Linked DNA regions of Homo sapiens: regions 1 and 2 are each linked to region 3. The links are contacts of gene promoters, found by promoter capture Hi-C in blood cells and fetal thymus (Javierre and others, 2016). All regions are on one chromosome and are shown on one strand. Each heading gives the region's core, a stretch centred on a gene start or on the middle of the fragment in contact. The rest is flanking DNA. Distances are from core to core; before and after follow the strand shown. Region 1 has its middle 28 kb from the start of PNMA3. Region 2 has its middle 10 kb from the start of PNMA5. Region 3 holds the start of BGN (biglycan).

The links. Contacts are between HindIII fragments. The CHiCAGO score rates a contact against its expected background, and 5 or more counts as called.
Region 1: a fragment that was not itself captured here is called in contact with the fragment with the promoter of BGN in region 3 in 1 of 17 cell types (M0 macrophages); the score reaches 5.4 in M0 macrophages.
Region 2: a fragment that was not itself captured here is called in contact with the fragment with the promoter of BGN in region 3 in 2 of 17 cell types (M0 macrophages and total CD8 T cells); the score reaches 6.5 in M0 macrophages.

The regions. Positions count from the first base shown.
Region 1 is chrX:153,026,227-153,030,304 of GRCh38, reverse strand. It overlaps the pseudogene LOC112268308. Among named protein-coding and RNA genes, the nearest start is that of PNMA3, 28 kb to the left of the region's middle. The HindIII fragment of the contact is 1,319 bases long and covers 1,296-2,614 here.
Region 2 is chrX:153,002,421-153,006,539 of GRCh38, reverse strand. No RefSeq gene overlaps it. Among named protein-coding and RNA genes, the nearest start is that of PNMA5, 10 kb to the right of the region's middle. The HindIII fragment of the contact is 2,358 bases long and covers 1,391-3,748 here.
Region 3 is chrX:153,493,011-153,496,955 of GRCh38, reverse strand. It overlaps BGN (biglycan), which reads right to left and starts at 1,976. Exons shown (of 8, transcript NM_001711.6): 1 at 1,843-1,976. It also overlaps a transcript of HAUS7 not described here. The HindIII fragment of the contact is 11,109 bases long and covers 1-3,314 here.

The DNA of each region.
Region 1 (4,078 bases), core at 706-3,205, 470 kb after region 3:
GCCAGGGTCAGCCTGGCTGGCGTCTTCCTGGGCTGAGGAGGCCTGAGCAGCATCTCCACAGGCAGGAGCTGCCTGGGCGGCAACTGGATCTTCACTTTCCACTGTGGCCACTGGCCAGGCCACAACATGCTGGCTCCTCACTGGGGAGGCCGCCCACGCCTCCATCTCCTGGATGAGCTGAAGCAGCCCCAGGAAGTAGGGCGGCCTCCTCTCCAGTGCATCCCCCTCAGGGTATTCTGGAGTGCTTCGCCAGGGCAGGCCTGAGGCTGCACCTACCGCAGTCACAGGTGGTTGGCCAGGGCCGGGCAGACGGCCCCCTTCTCCAGGGCCATCTGCAGCAGGCCTTCCAGGCATACCAGGAAGGCAAAGGGCCCCTGCGTTCAGGTCAGGAACTTCAGCCTGGAAGTCATTCGAGGGTCCCGGTTTCCAAACGCCTGCCCCAGCACCGCTGCCCAGCAGTCCAGCAGCGCCTGGCAGTCCAGTGCCGCCAAGTTGGGATCTTCCTCTAGGAGGCCGCTCACAACGTCCAGGGCTGGGCCACCCAAGCTCTCCAGCAGCCATCTCTTCCTCTCCCTTTCCGACGCATGGTACCACAGCTGCAGCATATCCTTGGCGTGCTCCATCCAGCTCTCAAAGGACTCTTCCTCGCAGCCTGGCTGCTCCCTCCCTGAAAAGGGTCTCAGTTCCTGGTAGGCCCTGTTTTCCAGCACAGCCTGCAGGGTGCAGCGCCGAGGCTGGACCCAGGCTCTTGTTACATTTGTCCCTCTTGCCTCACCCACAGCTCCTGCCTCACCCGCAGCTCCTGCCTCACCCACAGCTCCTGCCTCACCCACAGCTCCTGCCTCACCTGCAGGTCCTGTATCACCTGCGGCTCCCTCATCTGACTCTCTTGCCTCTTCTGCAACTCTCAACTCATCTCCAGCTCCTCCCTCACCTGCACCTTCTGCCTCACTTGCAGATCCTCCCTCACCTGTGGCTTCTGCCTCACCCTTACCCACAGCTCCTGTTTCACCTATGGCTCCTGCTGCACCTGCAGCTCCTCCATCACCTGCCTCTTCTTCCTCACCTGCAGCTCCTGCCTCACCTGCAGATCTTTCCTCATTCACACCTCCTGCCTCACCTACAGATCCTGCCTCACCTGCAGCTCCTGCCTCACCTGCACCTCTGGCCACTGCTTGCCCCTGGGGCTATGCAGGGAAACTGGGTATATCCTGAAACTCAGCATCAAGGGCCTGGGGCAGGGAGATCACTTTCCAGGGTCCCCCTTTGCCTGCTATTTGGCGGGGAATCAAGCTTTGGTTTAAACCCTCAGCGAATTCCACCAAGGCTGCCCTGGCCCCGAGCTCCTTTCTGAAGACCTTGATGAGCACTCGGTACCTGCCCAGGGGCGACAGGGCAGCCCGCACGGCCTCCTGGAACTCATGTTCCTCGCAGTCGTCAGGGATATCCAGGATGAGCAGAGAGCGCTCTGCGTTCACACCCATCCTCCTGCACCAGTCCCGAAGCATCGCCAGAGCCATCGCAGAGGACTTGAGGGAGGGAGCCTGATCAGACAGGAATGTGTGCTGACTGTTGCAGTCTCTGACGCAGCCTGTGAGTGCAAAGGGGAGAGAGGGACGTTGCTGCCAGTCAGCCCACCCCCACCGCACAGCCAGAGACCAGCCACTCCCAAATGCAGGGCCTGAAGCATCTCCCCTGCCCAGTGTCACAGCCCATGCTCCCCCACCCCTACTGCTGCAGCTCAGAGTCCTTCACTGCACCCCCCACCTCCACAGCAGGAAGCGCCTCTTTCACCTGGTGAACAGCCCCTGATCACAAAACTTACAGCTGGAGCCCCTCCAACCATCATGTGCAACCCTGCAGCTGGATGTGCCCACCTCCTCTTTTTCCCAGCACTTGACCAGGAGCCCTCTCCCTAATGCCATCCTCCCTGCAACCTGGCAACCCCCTCCCACGCCTCCCACATCAGCAGCCAGGAGTCCCCTTCCCCCACAGCCAGAGCCCCTCTCTCTCCCATCGTCCCCTTCTGTAGCCAGAGGTGCCCTGCAGCCAGGAGCTCACCCCACCCAGACTCCTGCAGCAAGGAGACCCTCCTCCCCTCTCCTCAGGCTCCAGACCAGGACCCGCTGTCGCACCTACTGCCTGGGGGGACAGCGATCTGGCTCCTGCCCAGTGTGCCCTCAGCCACTCTGGGGTCCCGCTGGTGCCTGCTCACTGTCTGCAGACACTGCAACCACCCACGGGGAAATGCCACCTTCAGGCTGTGGAGCCCACTCTGGAGGCCGCCTTGAGGCCCTGGAATGGGAAGGTGGAAGATCGCGCCCCAGCAGCCCATCTGGGACTGCACAGGGCAGGGATATCTCAGGCCAGCTGTACTAAGGGCACGTGGGCTTCCAACTTCTCCCAGAAGCCTCAGATAGATGAGGGAGAAAAATCTCAGAGTCTCTGTGGGAGGCAAATAGCTAAACAGGGGGAGGCATCCGTGTTGCCCTGGGATCGGGACCTGCGCGGTAAGGGCTTGATGTGCCTCCGGGGGCAACAGGCCCAACCATCAAAATGGCCTAGTGGAAGTGTTGAGAGAGAAAGGGGATTGGAAACTGGCAGAGAGGAAGCTTATGCTTAGGGGCAGCGTCTGGAAGCTGGGAGTTGGTGGACAGCCAGGTACTAGGACTCCAGACTAGGTCCCCCAAATCACTACATTCACAGGCCTACCTCCTCATTGCAGGAATCTCCACAACAGGAAGAGGCTAGCTGTTCCTGACTCAAGAGCCTCATCATAGTTCTTAGGCTACAAAGCCAGCCTTCACCACCTAGGAAGCCATTGCATTGGAAAGAGTGTGTACGGCCTTTGGAAGCAGGCAAAGCTGGCTTCACCTAGCAGCTGGGTGGCTTTGCACAAACCACTGAACATCTCTGTTTCTCATCTGTAAATGAGCAATAAGAACATTTTTCTTGCAGGGGAGTCATGGAGCTTTACCTTCTATTAGACACACGGTAAGCCTTCAGTAAATAACCACAAGGGCACAGGAATGAAAAAGGGTGGTGTGGCCAAGAATGGTGTGGGTATTGGAGGCTGGTTGTGGCAGCCAGCTCAGTGGTCCCAGGTCTGAGCTCTGAGAAAAAGCAGGATGTGAGTGGGAACATTGGAACCATTTTCCTGAGGAATGCAAGGATTGGCCAATGTGAAAATATGACTTTCTGTTTCTGCAGGCCTTGGTCAAGAGAGGCATTTGGGAAACTCAGCCAGTCTCTGCCATGTCTAGGACTGGCTACCCATCTGGCCAGCAGCTTTGGGAGTTTCCTGAGAGTGAACCCTTGATGCATCCTTGAGCACTGCTGCACAGGCACCACTGCCCTCACGTCACTTCCCCAGCCACCAATAGGAACAACAGGAAGAGTAAGAGAGTAAGGGTACGAGGGGCAGAAGCAGACCACATGTGACAAAGTGTAGGTGAGGGACTTGCCTGTGAACTCTTGTAGTAGATTTATATATATATACACACATATATACATATACATATACACACATATACACATATATATACACATATATATACACACATATATATACATATACATATACACACATATACACATATATATACACATATATATACACACATATATATACATATACATATACACACATATACACATATATATACACATATATATACACACACATATATATACGTATATAAAAATATATATATAAATCTCTCTCTATATATATATAGAGAGAGAGAGAGAGAGTAGAGAGAGAGAGGGAGAGAGGGAGGGAGAGAGAGAGAGAGAGATGGAGTCTTGCTCTGTCACCCAGGCTGGAGTGCAGTGGCGTGATTTCGGCTCACTGCAAGCTCCGCCTCCTGGGTTCAAGCGATTCTCCTGCCTCAGCCTCCCGAGTAGCTGGGACTACAGGTGCGTGCCACCACGCCTAGCTAATTTTTTGCATTTTTAGTAGAGACAGGTTTTCACCGTGTTAGTCAGGATGGTCTCGATCTCCTGACCTCGTGATTGGCCTGCCTTGACCTCCCAAAGTGTTGGGATTGATTTTTTAATGTCCCTGGTTCTCCATTTG
Region 2 (4,119 bases), core at 1,320-3,819, 490 kb after region 3:
CATATTGGAAGATAGCCCCCTCTTGTAACTGGAGTTCCCCAAAAAAGATGAGGGAGTTTTTGAATCCTTGTGGCAACAGTCCAGCAACATTGGTGCTTGCTCTTTGTTTCTGGATCTTCCCATTCCAAAGCAAAGAGTTCTTGAGATTCAAGACTTGGGGAATGGAGGAAAAATGCATCTTTTAAGTCTAATACTGTGAACTAACAGAAGTCTCCTGACAAGATAGTCAGCAAGGTGTAAGGGTTTGTAACAACTAGGTAACCTCCTCTACTATTTAGCTTTTTAATAGGTAAGATGGGAGTATTGTATGGAGAGCTACATGGCCTGATGAGCTGGAACTCTGGAAAGGCAATGATTAAAGGCCAAATCCCCCTTTTAATCTGTTCCTTTAGGGGATATAGTTTTGAGTTTGGAGTTTTTGCTTCTGGTTTTAGCTTCATCTATACTGGTATAGCAGGGATATAGTTTGGATGTCCCCTACAAATCTCATGTTGAGATGTAATCCCCAGTGTTGGAGGTGGGGCCTGGTGGGAGGTGTTTGGGTCATGGGGTGGAATCCTCATGGCTTGGTGCTGTTTTGTGATAGTGAGTAAGTTCTCACAAGACCTGGATGTTTAGAAGTGTGTGGCACCTTCCCTGCTCTCTCTCTCTCTTGCTCCTGCTCTCACCTGCTTCCACTTTAGCTTCAAACATGAATTAAAGCTGCCTGAGGCCTCCCCAGAAGCCAAGTGGATGCTGACACCATGCTTCCTGTACAGCATGCAGAACTGTGAGCCAATTAAACCTATTTTCTTTATAAATTACCCAGTGTCCAGTATTTCTTTGTAGCAACACAACAATGGTCTAACACAGAAAATTGGTACTGAGGAGTTGGGCATTGCTATAGATATCTGAAAATGTGGAAGCAGCTTTGGAGCTGGGTAACAGGCAGAGGTTGGAAGGGTTTGGAGGTCTCAGAAGAAGACAGGAAAAAAGTTCCAAGAAATCTTGGAAATTCTTAGGGACTGGCTAGATGGTGGTAACAAAAATACTGATAGTGATATGGATAGTGAAGTCCAGGCTGACAAAGTCTCAAATGGAAATGAGGAACTTTTTGGTAACTGAAGCAAAGGTCATCCTTGTAATGCCTTAGCAAAGAACTTGGCTGTATTCTGTCATGCCCTAGGGATCTGTGGAAGTTTGAACTTAAGAGTGACAACCTAGGGTATCTGACAGAGAAAATTCTTACGCATCAAAGTGTTCAAGAGGTGGTCTAACTGCTTGTAACAGCCTATGCGCAGATGCAGGAACAAAGAAATAACTTAAAGTTGGGAATTATATTTATAGAAGAAGCAGAGCATAAAGTTTGGAAAATTTGCAGCCTAGCCATCTGGCAAAGAAAGAAAAAGCTTTTTCAGGGGAAGAATCCAAGAAGGCTGTGGTGTAACCACTTTCTAGAGATATTAGCCTGATTAAAAGCAAACAATGTCCTGATAGCCAAGACAATGGGGGAAAGACCTTGAAGGCATTTCGGAGATCTCTGAGGCAGCCCCTCCCATCACAGGCCAAAAGGCTTAGGAGGGAAGAATGGTTTCAAGGGTCAGGCCTGGGATGCCACTGCCCTGCTCAGCCTTGTGACACTGCTCCTTGCATCCCAGCTGCTCTGGCTCTAGCTCCAGCTCAAATGGGCCCAAGTACAGTTTGGGCCTCCACTCCAGAGGGCACAAGCCATAAGCCTTGGCAGTTTCAACATGGTGTTAAGCCTGCAGGTGTACAGAGTATAAGGGTGAAGAAGGCTTGACAGCCTCCGCTTAGATTTCAGAAGATGCATGGAAAAGCCTGGGTCTCCAGCCAGACACTTCCTGCAGGGGTGGAGCCCTCACAGAGAACCTCCACTAGGGCAGTGCAGGGGGAAAATGTAGGGTTTAAGCACCGCCCACAGAGTCTCCAATGGGGCACTGGGTAGTGGAGCTGTGGGAAGAGTTCACTGTCCTCCAAATGCCAGAATGGTAGATCCACTAGCAGCTTGCACTCTGCACCAGGAAAAGTTACAGGTACTCAATGCCAGCTTGTGAGAGCAGGCTCAGAAGCTGAGCCCTGCAAAGCCACAGGGTCAGAGCTGCCCAAGGCCCTGGGAGCCCATCCCCTGCAGAAGCATGCCCTGGATGTGAGACATGGAGTCAAAGGAGACTGTTTTGAAGTTTTAAGATTCAATGACTGCCCTGCTGAGTTTCAGACTTGGGTGGCGCCTGTAGCACCTTTCTTTTGGAATGAGAATGTTTACCCAGTGCTTGTATCTCCATTGTATCTTGGAAGTAAATAACCCATTTTGATTTTACAGGCTTCTAGGTGGAAAGAACTTATTTCCAGATAAGACTTTGGACTGGGGACTTGGGACTTTTGAGTTGTGCAACCGCCCAAGGGGTTCACCTTGCCTGCTGCCTAGACACAGCTTATTTATCAAGACAGGGGAATTGCAATGGAGAAAGTAATTCACACAGAGCCAGCTATGCAGGAGACTAAAGTTTTATTATTACTCAAATAAGTCTCCCCGACTATTCGGGGATCAGAGTTTTTAAAGATAATTTGGTGGGTAGGGGCTTGAGAAGTGGGAAGTGCTGATTGGTCAGGATGGACATGGAATCATGGAGAGTTGAAGTGAGTTTTTCTTGCTGTTTTCTATTCCTGGATGGGATGGAAGAACTGATTGAGCCAGATTACTGGTCTAGGTGGTGTCAGCTGATCCATCAAGCGCAGGGGCTGCAAAATACCTCAAGCACTGATCTTAGGTTTTACAGCATTGATGTTATCCTCAGGAGCAATTTGGGGAGGTTCAGACTCTAGTAGCCAGAGGCTACCTGTCCCCTAAAATGTAATTTCTAATCTTCTATCTAATTTGTTAGTCCTGCAAAGGCATACTTGTCCCCAGGCAAGAATGGGGTCTTTTTGGAAAATGTCTGTTATCAATTTTGTTTCAGAGTCAAACCATAAATTGAATTCCTTCCCAAAGTTAGTTTGGCCTATGCCCAGTAATGAACAAGGACAAAGGTTAGAAGCAATATGGGGTTGGTTAGGTCTGATTTCTTTCACTGTCATAATTTCTTCAGTTATAATTTTGCAAAGGCAGTTTCATTAATGCTGGAATGTGTTAAGACTTTGGAGGACTATTGGGATGAGATTATTGTATTTCACAGTATGAGAAGGACATGAGATTTGTGGGGGCAGGGGAGAATGACATAGTTTGGACATGCCCTCCAAATCTCATGTTGAGATACAATCCCCAATGTTGAAGGTTGGGCCTGATGGGAAAGGTTTGGATCATGGGGGTGGATCTCTCATGGCTTGGTGCTGTCCTCATGATAGTGAGTTCTCACAAGATCTGGTTGTTTAAAATTGTGTGGCACCCTCTCTCCTCCATCTCTCTCTTGCTCCTGCTTTTGCCATATGATGTGCCTGCTCCTGCTTTGCCTTCCATCATGAGTAAAAGCTCCCTGAGGCCTCCCCAGAAGCTGAGCAAATGCCAGCACTATGCTTCCTGTACAACCTGCAGAACACTGAGCCCATTAAAGCTCATTTCTTTATAAATACCTAGTCTCAGGTATTTCTTTATAGCAATGCAAGAATGGCCTTAACACAAGCAGTCTTAGCCCTTCCCAGCCTCCCATCAGCCCAAGCATCTGGGCTTATCTGCTTTAAGATGTTCTCCATAATATTGATGGTGTGTTTTTCTGCTCTGTGGTCATAAAGGGCATTTGGGAGTGCACAAGCTTGTTCTGGTGGCACCTCAATTTTCCCAAAGCAAAGGTTACTGTGGCAATTAACTTAGTTAACAAGTCCTGTCCCAGTGAAGGGATTGGGCATTCTGGCATGTACAAGAAACTATGCTTTAGTTTGACTGTGCCCACTTGGTAGTCCATAGGTTGTAAAAAGGACTTTTTCATAAGTGTTCCAGACACCCCATGATAGTCATAGTATTGGGTGACAATTTTGTTATTTTGATATTTAGGACTGTATTAGTCTGTTTTCATGCTGCTGATGAAGACATACCCAAGACTGGGCAATTTACAAAAGAAAGAGGTTTAATGGATTTACTATTGCACATGGCTGGGGAAGCCTCACAATCATGGCAGAAGGCAAAGA
Region 3 (3,945 bases), core at 727-3,226:
GGGTGGGCCCGGGAAGCACAGGAGACGGCAGGTGGGGAGGTCCTCATCCCACCTCTATACGGGGTGGCAAGGACTCAGAAGCCCTTGCTGAAGGCTCTGAGTGCTAACTGTCAAGTGTGAACTCATTACAAACCCCTCCTCTGGGGACTTGGCGCTGTCACTGGAAGGGACACGCTATAGCTTTGTTTGAGTGACTCTGGAATGTTGCTAAAGACAGGAAACTCATTCTTGCCTTGGAAACACCCCCCTTCCTTTCCCAGACTCCCCATCTATGCGTTGGTAGGGTTAATGCCCACTGCCGTACGGGTCCTTGGGGCTTGAAGGTGGGCCAGGGAGGCCAGGGCTGCCACCCACAGCTGGCCAGCTTGCCATGGGAGCCCTCTCTGCTCCCTGGCTCGCAACCTGCTCCCACCGCCCAGCCCTGGTGGCTTGGAGGCAGCCCTGCATCTTCCTTTCAATATACCCACACGGGCTTGCCCTCAAAGGCTCACCATGCTGGCCCACAGTGGCCATACATGGGCATGCTCCGCACCAAGACATCCATGCTCATACACCAGCTCTCCTGGGGTGCGGCTGGCACCGGCGGCTGGGTGTCACCAGGAGGTGCTCACCCGCACCCCTGGGCGCTGGTCCCCGGGAGCCTTTCTGGCACGGGGGCAGGGGGGCTGAGCATCTCCAGCTTGTCTCAGTTCCAATTAGTTGCTATAGGGCAGAGAGCTGGCAGGCCAGGGAGGGGCGAGGGCCCAGAAACAGGACCCCCTGAGGATGGGACCTGAGCAGTCTGGCAGCCAGGACAGCAGGAGAGAGGCCTGCCCACCAAGACAGACCACTGGAGACTGATGTACCCTGTGCCCTGCAGATCCCTGGGCCCCCTGCTCTGCTCAGCAGGCGCTCAGGCACCCAGCCCCGCCCATGGAGCAGTGAGGGGGCGCTCCCCTCCGTGGGCCTTCCAGGGCACTCTCTCGCTCCCTCTCCTGGGTCCCTTGGCAGGCCCCTCTGGGACCCCAAGCCAGGTCCGCCCTGGGGAGCATGGCACAGTTGCCTGATTTTCTCTCCTTCCCCTCCACACCCATTCTGAGTCCCAGTCCAAGGGGGTCCTGGAAACAGACAGGGCTGAGCCACCCAGGCACCCCCAGTCAGGGCCCTTGCAGCCAGGGCTCCCAGGACCCAGACTTCTCACAGAGGATGTAGAGGCAGAGCATTAACCTGGGGGTGAGCGAGCGAGGAACATCTGGGCAGGGTGCCTGGGGTGTGCCTGGGAAACTAAGTCTTTCAGCCCATGCCAAGGACTGGCCTCAGGCAGTGCAGCGGAGGACTGCTCCTGGGTGCTGAGCTCGGTGGGCGCTGGGCGGTCCTCCCCGATCCGACCCAACCCGGGCCAGGCGCCAAGCCCTGGAGCAAGGAGGCGCCTGGGCAGAGCGAGGCTGAGGGAGTGGAGCATGCGCCTGGGACTTGCAATGATGAAACAGGGCCATTGGCAAAGCTGGGGTACCAGTCACCCAGCCACGCTCTAGGGTGGTAGCCAAGAAGACGGACCCCGAGCGGGAGGCAGAGAGACAAGAGGTGGATGAAGCAGAGCAAGGTCAGAAGGGAGAGGGAGAGGAAGGGGTGAGGGAAAGGTGCCTGGAGGGCGGCGAGACGAGGCAGAAGCCTGACAGGGACCAAGGGGGCCGCAGGGTGGCGATGAAGGGGCGTGGATCAGCAGCCTACAGAGAGCACCGGGGAAATCTGTGGACACCCTCGCGGCACTGGGGACAGCAGGACCAGGGCTTGGGACAGCGGAGGCAGCAGAGCCAGGGGCATCTCTGGGTTGCTGAGGAGGCAGCTTGAAGCCAGCCCTACCTGGAGAGGGGAGGCGCCAGGCGCAGGCTGACTAGTTGGCGGGCTGGGGTGGTGGGCCGTCCGCACGTCTATCTGTCCGGTGTGTCCGGCGGACCGAAAGCAGCTACTCACTCCTGGGCAGTTTGTGGAGAGAGGGAGACAGAGGCGGCGGGCGGGAGGCTAAAGGCTGGGCAGGCGGGCCGACGGGGAGGGGACAGCGGGGAGAGGGCGGGGAGGGAGGAAAGGAGGGAGGGGGCTGGTGGGGCGGAGAGGGCGGGCGAGCAGGAGGGGGCAGGCTTCCCGGCCCCCCTGGCAGCTTCAAAGGGAGCAATTTTCTTGTAGACGGCTGGACTAGCTGAGCCCCCGCCCCCTCGCCCCCACCACCTCCCCCCCCCTCCCCCGCCTGGGGCAGACAGCAAAGGAACGGACACACTCGCACTCACTCAAACAAGGACCCAGAGAGTCAAACTTTCCACTGCCCAGATGGGGACACTGAGGTGCTGGCTGGCATCTCGCCAGGCAGAGGAAAGAGAGATGGAAGAAAGACGAGGGGGAGGCGGCCTTGGGCTGCTAGGCCCATGAGTGGCCCCTGGAATTTGGTCCTGAGCCTGCCAGGAACCTGCTTGGGCCTAAGCAAGGAGGTGGTTTCTCCAGGATCAGAGAGGTAGCTGTTGTGGATTTCTGGAAGGACTTCATGTAGGCTCCTGGCGCCCTGTGCCCTCCCTTCCACTCCAGACTTTCTTCCCTTAAAAAGAGGGCCCGATCCGGCTGGTGGTGGCAGGACGGGGCAGGGGGCTCCCCAGCTTGCCTGCCCTGAACTGATTCAGAGACGAAGGATCCAGCGAGTCAGTCTTCTTGCTCAATCCCTGCAGGTCCCCTCGGACATGAGAACCACTCTGTGGGTGGCCACTTCCTCTGGGCTCAGCCCTGTGCTGGTCACTTACGGGGGCTAACCGGGTTACCCCACCAAGACTCAGCCGCTTCCTGAGGGCCCAAATGAGTCCAGTTCCTCCAGTGGCTAGAGCCCAGGTCCTTAGTACGACACTGCCCCCCTGTCCCGTAGTGTCCCCTTCTTCCCTCAGCAAGAGCAGCTCCTGAGACACAGGGGTAAGAGTTTAGATGGAGTGAGAAACAGATCTGCAATAGAACTGGGGGCCAAGAGTGCGGAAGACCAAAAGAGAAAATTGCATATTGAGAGAAAAAGCTCGAAGGGGCAGAGAGGGAGAGAGGGGTGGCTAGAGAGAGGCGGCATCCAATGGAGAGAGGACAACGTCGAGGGCTGAGGGTCTTCAACCCCTGGCAGTGCCATCACTCAACCGGGGGGTGGGGTCTGGGAGGTCCCAGGCCAGGGAGGATGCTCCCAGGGGAGCTCTACCTGGGGGCATGGCAGGGCACAGACCCCCTTCCTGTTCACCAGCGGCAGCCCAGGGCCTGGCTAGGACCTGGGACGCATGGCACCTTGACCAAACTGTGGTACCTGCCTGCAAGAAGCTTCTAGACTGGGCCAGGGAGAAGAGAGACGTGGGAAACCAGGGGCCAGGCTGGTAACCCTGGTTCTCTCTTGATTTCATGGTTGGAATGAGGAGATTGGAGACCACATATGCCCTTTCCAGACAAAGGAGATGGCTTGTCTTTCGGCAGGTTTGTGTGTTTTACCTTTTGCCCAGCCTCAGCGTCCGACTCTTGGCAGCCTGGTCTCATCTCTGTCCCACCCTCTTTCCCTCCCCCACTGCCAACTCATTCGTGGAGAAATATGTCGGTAGAGAGCGGGACAGGCAGCGAAGCCTGACTAGCAGTCTGGGTGGAGAGAGAAGCATTTGGAAACATTCCGCTCAGTGACAGCAGCCAGTCGCAAAAGGCCGCAGAGCCTCTGGTTCCATTCATTTGAAATGTCCACACTAGGCTCATCTGTGGGGACAGAAAGCGGATTTGTGGGCAGTGGGTGCTAGAGGGGTGGTACCTAAAGGTATGGGTTTTCTTTTTGAGGTGATGAAAATGTTCTACAATCGACTGAGTGATGGTTGCACAGTTCTGTGAATAGACCATATAAAAGCCCTTGCCTTGTACGTGCTCAATGCGCAAATCGTGTGGTAAGCACAGCCACTCTCAGTAAAGCCGTTTCAG